Linked DNA regions of Homo sapiens: regions 1 and 2 are each linked to region 3. Evidence: promoter capture Hi-C in human tissues and cell types (Jung and others, 2019). All regions are on one chromosome and are shown on one strand. The core of a region is centred on a gene start or on the middle of the fragment in contact, and the rest is flanking DNA. Distances in the headings are between cores, read along the strand shown.

Region 1 (3,915 bases), core at 1,340-3,839, 220 kb before region 3:
AGCTTCCAAAATCTCTGCCAGCAAGAAATTTACAACCTAATGGAAAGAAAGTCTTATAACAATGAGTACTCCTCATTTCGTTCGATTTCAAAGAGTACAGCTTTGCCTTGACTAAAAGTGTTGACAATACTTCCATTTTGTATATGGTTTTACCTCACTAATCCTCATTTTAAAAGTGTGAGGTAGACAGAGTTGGAATCATCTCCATTTCATAAATGAGAAAACTAGCTGACAGATCAAGCAACCCTCTTGTACTGTCACTAACTCACCATGACCTTGGAAAAATTCCAATTTCCTAGTGCCATGGTTTTTAAATCCATAAAATCAGGGCGTTTAGTTAAGGTGATGTTCAAGGTTCCTGACAATCTGTCATTCTATGAGTCTGAAAATATGAAAGGCGATTCCAAGAAGAAGAAAAAAAGAAAAATTGACTCATGCAGTCTTGATAAACAGGTCAGTGGGAACATCCTTTTAAAGAAGATTCCTCCCATGTGACAGCCGCCACGGTATATGTCAACAGCTGTCTCATAATGGACTGTGTGGGAGAGATACTTAAAAACTCAATGGAAATAAATCCAAGTACATAAATGTTCTAAATCCAAGATAGCAAGACATTCTAGGGGAGGAAATACCATAATAAAAAGACAGGCCTCCAGGAGAAATCTGTGATAAATTCAATGAGATGACTCTTCAATCGTAGAGACAGTGGGCAGTAAAGACACTGTGACATAGTTAGAAATACACTGTGATGTCTAAGTGGCTGTGAGGGCAACAAGGAGGGATCTGGAGTATAAACTAGAGGGTACCTACTTCAAAACTGCCTGCCAGGTAATTTTAATTGAGTAGTTGAGCATTATAGCACTGAAAGAGTTGGGTAAAAGACTGTTGTAAGGGGGCTTTCCTAGCTCTAGGACCTTAGACCAAGGTACTTCTTATCTCAGGGCTTCAGTTTCCCAACTTCTCTAAATGAAGGGGTTGAACTCAGAATTGTTTCTCATTGACTCTGACATCCTTTGATCCTCTTAAAAATGGCACTATCTGGCTGGGCACAATCCCAGCACTTTGCGAGACCGAGGCAGGTGGATCACTTGAGCCTAGGAGTTGAAGACCAGCCTCGGCAACATGGCCAAACCCAGTCTCTACAAAAAAAAAAATACAAAAATTAGCAAGGCATGGTGGCGCATGCCTGTAGTCTCAGCTACTCGGGAGGTTGAGATAAGCCCAGGAGGTGGAGGTTGCAATGATCCAAGATCATGCCACTGCACTCCAGCCTGAATGACAGAGTGAGACCCTGTCTCAAATAAAGGCACTATCTCCAGGCCTCAAACATCTCCCCTTACTTTACCTTAATTTTCCTTCTGCCTTCCAAATCATTCATTACCTCACTCCTATTTAACTCTAATAATGACTTAAATGGTCTTCCCCCTACCTCATATGTTCACTACTCCAATGAATTTTTCAGATGACTCATTAATACTCTGAAAAATATGGTTTATACCAAGTCCTTCCCCTGCTCAAAAACCCTAAACTGCTACAAAATCAAGTTTGAACCCTGCTCCCATGCAATGGTCATACTGGGCAAACATGTTTCCCAAGATGACTCAACATGGAACCTTTCAGTGTAAAGAATGAATGGGAATCAAACTGAATCCAAATCCAGACAATTCCACTTACTAGTCGGATGACCACAGACAAATTACTTAACCTCTGAGTCTATATTAAATGGCTACAGCCAGTCATGCTGTTAAATGTGTTTTCCCTATCTTCTCTTTCTGTTATCATTATTTGTTACATGATTATGTCCCTACTTTGATCTACCGTCCAATTTTATATTCAGTAGTCTTGCCTAAGGGCAGATCATCTGTTCTGTGAAATAAAGCGCACTGACTTTCATGCCTAGGTGTTATGAAAAATATCTGTTACTTGGAGAACCTTTTCTTTTTTATCATTTCTAGATTTATCATCTCAGCTCCAGATGGCTGAGACTACTGAAGGTCTGGCTTCTATCCAGACCTTGGATAGAAGGGCCACAAATCCATTATGGCCTGCCAATATCTGTATTTGATATGCTTCAACCCTCTGCCCAGAATAATGCAGGGAAGTGGAGAAATGATGCTTATGAGACTTCTGAACTGAAGCTTAAAGAAAGAGGTAAGCAGGAAGAAAAGCATTAGACTGGGAAGCACAAAGACAACACGAACTTGCTGGATTTACTCTGACTTTTCTCAGGCCCAGTTCAGTCTGACTTATGTATTTCTACTCAGTTTAGAAAAGACCCATTTTATGCCACTGCACTCCAAATAAGTCATTTAATTTATGACGAATAATTTTATTTATAATACAGAATTTTAAAGCTTATTACTTATCGCTGCAATCCTGAAAATGAAGTAATGTTAACACCATGATATCACAATAAAACTATCTTCAGCCTCTGATTTCTTCCTTTCTTACTATACTAACTGTGAGTAAAGTACGTTCTTAGGGCACAGAACCCCTTGCAGTTGTGCAGGGCTTAAAAATCTTCTGCATGGATCTCCTATGCATGTGCAGATCATTCTAGAAATTCTGAGCCAGTCAGGGTGGTTCACGCCTATAGTCTCAGCTACTCTGGAGGACCACTTGAGCCCAGGAATTTGAGGCTGCAATGAGCTCTAATTGCTACTGCACTCCAGCCTGGGCAACAGAGTGAGGCCCTGTCTCTTAAAAAAAAAAAAAAAAGATTGCTACTAACATTATTTTCCCAGAATACAGTGTTCAAAGACTGTATACAGTTCTCAGATCCCTAAATTCCTTTATCTCATTGACTATTCTCATTCCCTCTCTGCTTGTCGCCCAGATATACCTGTAAGACTGGGAATTAGTCCCTGCCCGTATCCTAAAGAAGAAGGATAGGGAGAGACCACTGAAAACCTCAGGGAACTGATCATAAGATTTTTCCTAATAGACTGGTGGCCTCAAAGCATCTATAAATAAACAGTTGCCTGCCTCTAATTTAAAGTTGATATTTCTTACATCATTACCTACCTTGTTATGCACATTACAATTGCTACTATGATGGCAATCTGTACAGCTCCAATAATTGCTGCAATAAGAACATGAGTGAGCTTTTGCCTACTTGGCACTACATAGAGAATACTAAAGTCTGTCTTTTCACAGTGCTGTCCAGTGTAGCCAGATTCACATCTGAAAAGGAAAAATATATATATTCCTATGAAAATTACAAATTTTGATACTCCCAAGCTTTTACATTAAAAAATACAAAATAGTAATAAAATTTAAACAGGAATAGGATATCATGCACTTTCCTACCATCTGGGGGAAAAATGTCATTTGTATGTTTCCCTACTGTCTTTCTGATATGCCTACATGGTGCGTCTTTCACCTAAGTTATATCACATTAATTTTAAAGTTGCTGAATATTGTTAATGTATATCTTTTTTTGTTATTGTTGCTTTTGCTTTTGGTGTCATATCTAAGAAATTATTGCCTAATCTAAAGCCACAAAGATTTACTCCTTTTTTTCACTTTTTAAATTAAATTTGCTTAAAAATTGACAAATAAAATTACGTATATTTATCATGTACAACAGGGATCCCCCCCAACTCCCGGGCCATGGACAGATATTGGTCCATGGCCTGTTAGGAACCAGGCCACACAGCAGGAGGTGAGTGGTGGGCAAGTAAGCAAAGCTTCTTTGTATTTACAGCTACTCCCCATCACTCACATTACCACCCAAGCTCCGCCTCCTGTCAGATCAGCACTGGCATTAGATTCTCATAGGAGCGCAAACCCTATTGTGAGCTGCGCACACAAGGGATCTAGGTTGAGTGCTCCTTATGTGAATCTAATGCCTAAGGATCTGTCACCGTCCCCCATCACCCCCAGATGGGACTGTCTAATTGCAGGAAAAACAAG
Region 2 (4,330 bases), core at 1,787-4,286, 160 kb before region 3:
AAATAACTTTGTCCCTTCCCCTCAACCAACTCACCCAACATTTTCTGCATCTTCATCACACTCAGCTTTATATTTGCAGGGTCCACACTTGGAGTGTTTTCTGTGAACTTCTGCCCCTGACCCTTCCTCTTCTGTTTAAAAAGAAAAATCAAATTTACAACCAAAAGTTGGGATCCTTTCCAGATATGCTTCATGTTTTCAGCAGTCATTATCCTGTTTCTGAGGAAAATGTACCTGAGCTCTTGAAAACAGTCACTTCCAAAATCTACCAATGCTTGAAGTTCAAAAATGTTGCCAGTACTGAGTACAACATATTTTGTGAGGAAAACAAGTTTTGGTGCTGAAAAATGATCCCTTAAACTATGTAGGCAGAACTACACAGTAGGTTTGATAATGAATTGCTTTTTTAAGAAAAATTACCATATAACACTGAATAAGGGAGAAAGAAAAGAGACAGGAGCAATACATTTAAGTCCTGTGATTACCCTCCTGTTGCAATCAGCCTGTGCAAAGCTGGTCAGCAGATAAGCGCCTGACCACAAAAGAATGTAACTCTCACCTTTTCCTCACATCAGTTTCATACTTGTCTTTCTAACTACATAAAAACTAATTTCAGAGTTTAAAAAAAAATACTTATCTCCAAATTTTAAAATGGAAAAGGGTCTCTTTGTAAAGGACTTTTCTTCTTTTTCTACTTGGTCACTTAGCACAGCCAAAAATATGCAGATACAAAAGTATGCAGGTCTCTTATGCTCCAACGCAAAAGAAAAAAATAAAAACACTAAATACCTCCAGCCCCAAACTCAGCTCACATTCCACACTGAAAGGGCCTTACACTTTGTGGGTCTCAACTAGAGTGGATCATATCCTGATAATCTCAAACTGGCCAGGGAGATCAGTTCTGAAATCAACTTAAGGATTTCAGTTCATTCAAGGGATTTCCCTCGAATTTGGTTTGAAAAAGAGTACTATTCAGGGAGTGTCTTTTTTTTTTGTTTGTTTGTTTTTCAGACGGAGTCTCAGGCTGGAATGCAGTGGCGCAATCTCAGCCTGGATGAATCTCAGCCTGGAGAATCACTTGAACCTCTGCCTCCTGGGTTCAAGTGATTCTCCTGCCTCAGCCTCCTGAGTAGCCAGGATTACAGGTTCACACCACCATGCCCAGCTAATTTTTGTACTTTTAGTAGAGACGGGGTTTCACTATGTTGGCCAGGCTGGTCTTGAACTCCTGACCTTGTGATCCGCCCACCTCAGTCTCCCAAAACGCTGGGATTACAGGCATGAGCCACCACACCCGGCCTCAGGGGGTGTCTTATAATAAAGATAGTGTTAAAAAAGGTACACAAATCTGCCATGCCTGTTTGGTAATGCTTCCGAACTTCTAATTTTTGGTGTCTGCCTGTCCTTAAATAGAAATATTCCCCTAAACTCTCATGAATACTCCCAAACAGATACCAGGGATTATCATCCTAAGTAATTCTGAGGCCCCAAAACATCATAATATTCAGAAATACTACAGTTACCATGAGCTCACTAAGGTCTGTATATTAACTGGGGCAAACCACTTAGCCCTTCTAACTCATGCTCTCAAAAAAAAATTTTTTAAAAATGGTCAACCTACATCCTCAGGGCAAGATATCCAGCATTTTTTGTTTTGTTTTGTTTGAGACAGGGTGCAATGGCGTGATCACCACTCACTGCAGCCTCAACCTCCTGGGCTCAAGCAATCCTCCCGCTTTAGCCTCCAAAGTAGCTGAGACTACATACCACCACACCTGGCTTTTTTAAATTTTTTTATTTTTTTATTTTTTGAGAAGGAGTCTCGCTCTGTCCCCCAGGCTGGAGTGCAGTGGCGCAATCTCAGCTCACTGCAACCTCTGTCTCCTGGGTTCAAGCAATTCTCCTACCTCAGCCTCCTGAGTAGCTGGGATTACAGGCGCCCACCACCACGCCTGGCTAATTTTTGCATTTTTAGTAGAGACGGGGTTTCACCACATTGGCCAGGCTGGTCTCAAACTCCTGACCTCAGGTGATCCGCCCGCCTCGGCCTCCCAAAGTGCTGGGATTACAGGCATGAGCCACTGTGCCCGGCCTTTTGTTTTTTTTTTTTTTTTTGGGGTAGAGACAGGGTCTCACTATGTTGCCCAGGCTGGTTTCAAACTCCTGGGCTCAAGTGATCCTCCCATCTCAGCTTCCCAAAGTTCTGGGATTTTAGGCATGAGCCACTGCGCCCAGCCCAATATTGTATTATATAAGCAAATCTTGAGATCAACTCTCACTTCTTTAATATAGGAACAATGACAATGACAGTTTCCTAACTGAATACCTGACCACAGGGGCTAGACTACATGATCGCCTAAAATCTGTTCCAGCTCTAAGATCTGGAATTTATTATCTGATCCTTCACACCTGATTATAAAGCTTCTGCTTGAACATGTCCATCTACTTCAAATTCTATTGTTTGAAAGCTTTAATCATTTTTTTTTTTTTTAGCTGAAACTGTCATCCTTGAATTTCTCCTCAGGACAGTTCTCCTATTCTCCAGGAGACCTTCAAAGTCCCTTCCAACTCTGAAATTTTAAGATTCTATGAAATGTAGACGTATGGAGTGAGGTTTCAGGCAGTTTTGAAAGGATCATAACTGTAGTTTCCATTTGCATTAAGTGTGAATTGTACTGAAGTGGGTGTTCTTTGGTGTACCCCATAATATCTCAAACATTATTTGGTATACAGTACATACTCATTAAGAATTATAGCCTCATTAGACTATGATATAGATTAGTCAATCTCAATTCTGATCATTTAAACTCCATTATATGCTATTACCAAATATTAATCTTTTAAACAACAGAAATAATTCATATATTTGTAAAATAAAATCAAAAACATAGATAGGAAATTGTTAAAGGTTTAAATTAAACTCTAAATTCCACGAGAGTTGTTGGGCAAGTCTTCCTTTTTCTATGCACAACTCCCTCTGGAGTTTTTAACCCTGTACCATGAAAATTCCTGATGAGCAAAAACTTGAAAGCAAGGTATGGGAAAGAGTTACAAATACTCTGGTCCAAGCTAAAATCACTTGTGGGGATGATGCAACCTCAATTTAACAGAAACTACAACATCTTCCCCTTAGTATGACAATAAACTTCCAGAGAAAAATGCAAGAAACAAGAATGCCTAGAGCTGAGAGGGAGAGTTGGGTTAGGAGTGATGGCTAAGGAGTGCATGGTTTCTTTTTGAGGTTATTAAAATGTTCTAAGAGTGACTGTGGTGATGAATATATAACTCTGAATATCCTAATGAATATATAACTGTGAATTTACTAAAAGTCACTGAATTTGTACACTTCAAGTGGCAAATTATATGGTATGTGAATTATATCTCAAAGCTGATTTAAAAAAAAAAAAAAAAAGAAAAAGAAAGAAAGAAAGAAAGAAAAGCAAATATCCTTTAAGAGGTACTTGAAACTTACCTCCTTCTCCAGATCCAGATCCATTATCTGAGAAGAAAAACAAAGAATGAATATGAACATTTTTCCCGGAAATTTCATCTTATCAAATAATAAAATTTCCTATCAAAAATAAAACTGTGATATCCATTCTCAAAGAGTCCTTTTCTCATATTTTTGATATCTTATTTATTCTTACATACTTATTTTATGCTGCTCTTAAAATATAAATTGCTTAGATACATAATCATCTATATTTCATACATCTTTGTATCCCATTAAGGACATACCCAGATGCTTTGCACAGAGTAAAGACAATAAATACTGTAAAGTAAAAGGCTAAATATAAATAATTAATTTTAATCCACTCATTTAAAAGATAAGAGAAAATTTTAGTTTTTGTTAAAGCTTGAGAGAAATAATGAATAAGCTGCTTTTATTAGAAAGGCAGGAAAAGAGCTTTGGGTCTTACTACAAAAAAAAAAATCTTCTTAAGGAAATCTGCGGATAAAGACCAAAAGCCAAAAGGTAAGAAAAGCCCCAAGGTTTAGGAAGCAAGGAACCAAAGGCTTGAGGTTTTCATGTTACTAATAAAATTAACTTCCTCTAGGAAATCCAATCCGAAGGACTTACCTGACTTGTCGCTAGTGAAATTAAAAAGAGCCTTCATCAAAGTTACCAGAAAGAAGCCAGTCTCAAGTACAATTAATGTAAAATATTTATTCTATAATCCTAAAGGAACCAACATATTAGCACAGAACATGTTGAAAAGAGGGTAATGATGTAAAATCATCAGCACAGAGTCATTTTAAAAAGCAGAGAGAGCAAGTGAGGAATTTGATGCTTTATCTAGCACTTGCCAGGGGAGAGGATACCCTGGAT
Region 3 (4,228 bases), core at 23-2,522:
TAGGATGTCTTTAAAGGTAGAGTCAATCTCCAGATGGATTAGATGTGAGGTGTGGAACAAAGAGGCCAAACCAAAAACCCAAAGGTTTCTGCTTGAGTAACTGCAAGGACAGACTTACTATTTGAGATGAATAAGCTGTAGGAAGAGTAGATTTCAAGGGGAAAATCATCAGTAGCTCTGTTTTGGACAAGTTGACCTTGAGATGTATACTGGATATCTGAAGGAAACATTGAAAAAACTGTTGGATACAAGTTTGGAGTTCCAGGGACTTGTCTGGTTGGCAATAAATCTTTCCTCTTCTGATCTAGTCTCATAGCTTTAAACAGAATATAATGCCACATAATGCCAATGACTCCCAAATATTTATGGTTATGGTCGATTCCAGGCAGATTGTGGTGATGTGGCCATATTGCCAGCAAAGGGAGGTCAGGGTTTCTAGCGCTGCCTCTTTATCTCCGATTATGGAACAGGCATGGTTTTAGTTCCAGTGCTTGGGTCTCCCTGGATTTAGACATCATTCCTTTGAATTCCCACCCAATATAATGAGGGTCAATATCTTCGCTAGCTTTACTAAGTCTTAATTATCTGGTGAGGTGTAGACACAAATTTGAATCAAGGTCTGAAGTCCTTACCTGGGGCTCTTTCTTCCATGCCATCATGCCAGTCTTTGTGAAGACATTTTTCAAAGGCTCATTCTTCTTACCTCTTTTCTAGGAATTTTAGTTTATTTCTTTACTTAACTTCAGAAATTAATTTCTCACTTCATTTTAGTAGCAGGAATGTTAGTGCTGAGAAACTGAGATGTTAGGGAGAATCCTTGACCAAGACTTCCAGGCTCTAGATACTAGGTGTGTCTTGCTCTAATTAAGGAAATCTTATCTGCTCCATCTTAGCCCAGTTTAACGTCCCCAGGAATTCCATCTTCTGCAGTCCTAAACTTTTCCCTTTTTCAATTCAGTGCAACTTATACTCTTCTCTGAAAGTGGCTCCAGGTCTGAAGAACTGTGGTCTGGGAGGAATAGAAAAGCATGCTCAGCTATAACCAGGCCCACATCCCCTAAGTTGCCTGCCCACCAAGTTACGGGCCGGACTTATGCGCCACGCTTTGTCCGGGGACCTCGCGCTGTCCTCCCTCCGGTTCCCACAGAGCAGGGGGCTTCCGGCGGGGTACCCTCCTCTGTGGGCGGGGCCTACCGCTCCCGCTCCCGCCTCCCCGGTTGCGCGCGGCTGCGGGCTGCGATCACGTGAGCACAGCAGGGAGGGGGAGGGGCCCTGATTTCCGGGCGGCGGAAGGAGACGCGGCCGCGTGAGGACGAGGCTATTTGAAAACACGCTCCGGGAGCTAGAGCCTGAGGTCGGCGGCGCACGCTGTTGCCCCGTGGGCTTCTGCTCCCTCGCTTGTCTTCTCGGGCTTCTCGCCCCGGCCGCGGCCGGGTCCTCAGGTAAGCGGCCGTCGCCCGTCGGGCCGGGTCCTCCCGGGGCGCGGGACTGAGCGTGGTGGGGCCGTCGCCCCCCGATCCGCGGCCCAAGCGGGCAGGGTCGGCCGTGCACGATTTGCGTCCCCCGGGTCTGGGCCGCGGCGTCCCTCCGAGCTGGGCCTGGGTGTGCGGCCGGCACTGCGGGGGCGGGACCCCCTAGGGCGTTTGCGGAGCTTCAGGTGACTGGGCGGGTTCGCCTGGTTTCGGGTCCGAGAGAGTTTTAGCCCGGAGTGTGTGAATCGGGCCCCACTTCCCCGACTCTGGTCCTGGCCGGCGTCCCTTGGAGTAGGAGGAACGATGGTTTCCTAAAACCCATGGTGTGTTCGCCTCTGGGATGGATGCAGGACCGAATACGGAGTGGGGATGAGCTGGCGTCCCCTGTTCCGTCCTCTGGTCGCCCAGGCGGGAGAGTTAAGCGAGCGGAAGGGGACTACCAGTTTTCTGGGGTCGCCCCTGCCTGGGCCATTTGCTTTTTGGGAAGTCTGTCGCCTCTGGTTGGCCCCTCAGTGGAGTTTGGAGGAACTCATGAGTTTAAGGGTTTGGGGAGGAAATTATCAAAGGCCGAGTGCAGTACGATCGTTCTCTCTGATTTTTTTTGGAAAAGAAGGTGGAAATGAGGAAGGGTAAGAAGGTGGCAGGCAAACTATTTATAGTTGGAATTTAGTTCGATTGAAATCCTAAAAACGCTAGGATCTGCCTTTTGTTGGAATTAGAAAAGACCTACAGTAGGAATGTGTGACATTCAGCTTTGAAACTATTGGGGATCGCAAACCTAAGGACTAGTGATGTGAGCTCCTCCTCTGAGACTGGCGTTCCTACCTTTTGCTAAAAACCGGCTACTGTAAAAGTGGCTTAGTGGGACTTTTTGATTTGCTGTGTTATGAAAATCTTTGTTATAAGTTAAAGTCAATTACTAGTAGAACTTTGAGAGTTCTTCGCATGAAAATGCTTTGTATCCCGTAATAATATTACTAGGTTTGAAAAGTCAAGGAAGGTCAATCAGCCTTCTTAATTTTCCTAACAGAGAAAGCATTAATGTGACTAATACAAAGCGATAGATAATATGGCATGAAGTTGACAGTAGACTGTTGAAGATCTATCAGGTGGTTAATGGCTAAATAGAACCCACAGGAGTGGAGGAGGAAGGGAGTTAATTTTTCTGAATGTCCTGTACCATTTACTTTCGTGTCTAGTACCAGCTAGTAATAAAATTGTAGGAAAAGCTCACAAAGTGTGCTTGCTTAATTAATGAAAACCATTTTTGTATTAAAAGAGGCCAGGTGAGTATCATGGCCTTCTTTTTAGGCCTTATTCCCTCCCACCCACCCACCCACCGACCCCCAGCTTTTTTTTTTGTTTTGTTTTGTTTTTTAAGACTAAGGTAACTAGAGGTGTGGGTGAGATGAAAATTTGGTAATAGGGACAAATGAAATAAGCCAAACTGTTTTGCCACGAAGACTTCCAGTCTTCAGGTTAATTCTGGTATGTTAAAGGTGGTTTTGCAGAGCTCAGTTCTGTGAATGAATCCCTTTTCAACTTCTTGATAAAGGCGTGACTTCCAAACTTTTCTGAGGTACATTGTTAAAATGGGTTTAGTTCCACCTACCTTGCATGGTTCTGTGCAGATTGTATACTGAGGTACACAATGCATCTAGTACCGGGCTTGGTATGTCCTGATCCTGAGACTTGAGGGACACGCACATGTTTATGCTTTGAGCATACGTATTTAACCATGTACCAGGCACAGTTCTGAGTGTTTTACAATTGTGTATGATTATCCCTATTTTGTAGATAGAAATTGGGACAGTGTACAGCTGGAAGGCGTCAGAGTTTGGATAAAAGCCTAATCAATCTGGTTGTAGAATTGGTTCTTAACCTGTGGGAAATCCTACCTCATGGCGATCTAATATAACCCTGTAATTAAGTAAATTTGGATATATTGTCATAGCTGATTGGCTTCTGAATTCCTTGAACTTGAGCTGTTCAGTATTGCACTGGCCATTTTATTAATATTGTAATAAAGGAAACTTTCGTTTTACCCATTTTTTTATACCCTCATGTGTAGCATTGTCACTTTTTATGGCCAGGCACAGGATAATTATGATAAACCAGGAGATTAGCAGAAGTTTTATATATTCCAGAGGTACTTACCCTATTCAAGTGGTGTACAGTATTGTTCTCAGGTGTGGAAAAGGCTTCAAGAAGAATTTAGCTGGTTCCAGGTAGAAGAGGCTATTGTTTTAGATAGAGATTAGCTTGTGGGAAGATAAAGCTGGAGAGGATGGATGGGGCCACATTAGGAAGGACCTCATATGTCCTGCTAAGGAGGTTTTACTATGTATGAGGAATAGAACAGCTGAGAACTCTTGAGTCTTGGTCATGAGATCTGTGTTCAGAGAGAGCTGTTTCGTAAAGGGCCAGTGGACTAGAGAGGAGACACTAGATAGTAGGCAGGAGTACCAGTGGGGAAGGTATTGAATGGTAGAAATAAAGGACTTCTTGAAAGTAGTGGCCTGGAAATGGGTAAGAGACACAGATCAAAGATTTCATGTGTAAGTGCAAGGTTTGGAATGTGGTATAGAGGGGGAGGAAGTACAAGATGGCATGGTGTTATGCCTGAGTTATTTATTATAATAGTGGCTTAGCTGGTCTTTGTTCCTTATCCCCCTATTACATTATATTTCTTTTTATGCTGCTTTTTATCCTTTTTGGGGACCAAGGGGGAATACTGTTTTCTGTTTAGTCTGAGG

Evidence for each region. The method cuts DNA at HindIII sites, captures the fragments that hold promoters and counts their contacts. A contact is called where the count stands out against the background at its distance.
Region 1: a contact is called between a fragment that was not itself captured here and the fragment with the promoter of TEX10 in region 3, in 1 of the 25 tissues and cell types used here (dorsolateral prefrontal cortex).
Region 2: a contact is called between a fragment that was not itself captured here and the fragment with the promoter of TEX10 in region 3, in 1 of the 25 tissues and cell types used here (mesenchymal stem cells).

What each region holds. Positions count from the first base shown.
Region 1 is chr9:100,571,786-100,575,700 of GRCh38, reverse strand. MSANTD3-TMEFF1 (MSANTD3-TMEFF1 readthrough) reads right to left here. Exons shown (of 10, transcript NM_001198812.1): 9 at 3,025-3,183. TMEFF1 (transmembrane protein with EGF like and two follistatin like domains 1) reads right to left here. Exons shown (of 10, transcript NM_003692.5): 9 at 3,025-3,183. Among named protein-coding and RNA genes, the nearest start is that of CAVIN4, 4.3 kb to the left of the region's middle. The HindIII fragment of the contact is 5,125 bases long and covers 27-3,915 here.
Region 2 is chr9:100,512,476-100,516,805 of GRCh38, reverse strand. It overlaps MSANTD3-TMEFF1 (MSANTD3-TMEFF1 readthrough), which reads right to left. Exons shown (of 10, transcript NM_001198812.1): 4 at 3,473-3,499; 5 at 35-131. It overlaps TMEFF1 (transmembrane protein with EGF like and two follistatin like domains 1), which reads right to left. Exons shown (of 10, transcript NM_003692.5): 4 at 3,473-3,499; 5 at 35-131. Among named protein-coding and RNA genes, the nearest start is that of TMEFF1, 41 kb to the right of the region's middle. RefSeq lists enhancers at 1,423-1,923, 1,924-2,424. The HindIII fragment of the contact is 4,141 bases long and covers 966-4,330 here.
Region 3 is chr9:100,349,986-100,354,213 of GRCh38, reverse strand. TEX10 (testis expressed 10) reads left to right here and starts at 1,272. Exons shown (of 15, transcript NM_017746.4): 1 at 1,272-1,442. LOC105376177 (a long non-coding RNA gene) reads right to left here and starts at 1,164. Exons shown (of 4, transcript NR_188642.1): 1 at 633-1,164; 2 at 119-217. RefSeq lists enhancers at 945-1,579, 1,984-2,033 and a silencer at 1,094-1,643. The HindIII fragment of the contact is 15,352 bases long and covers 1-4,228 here.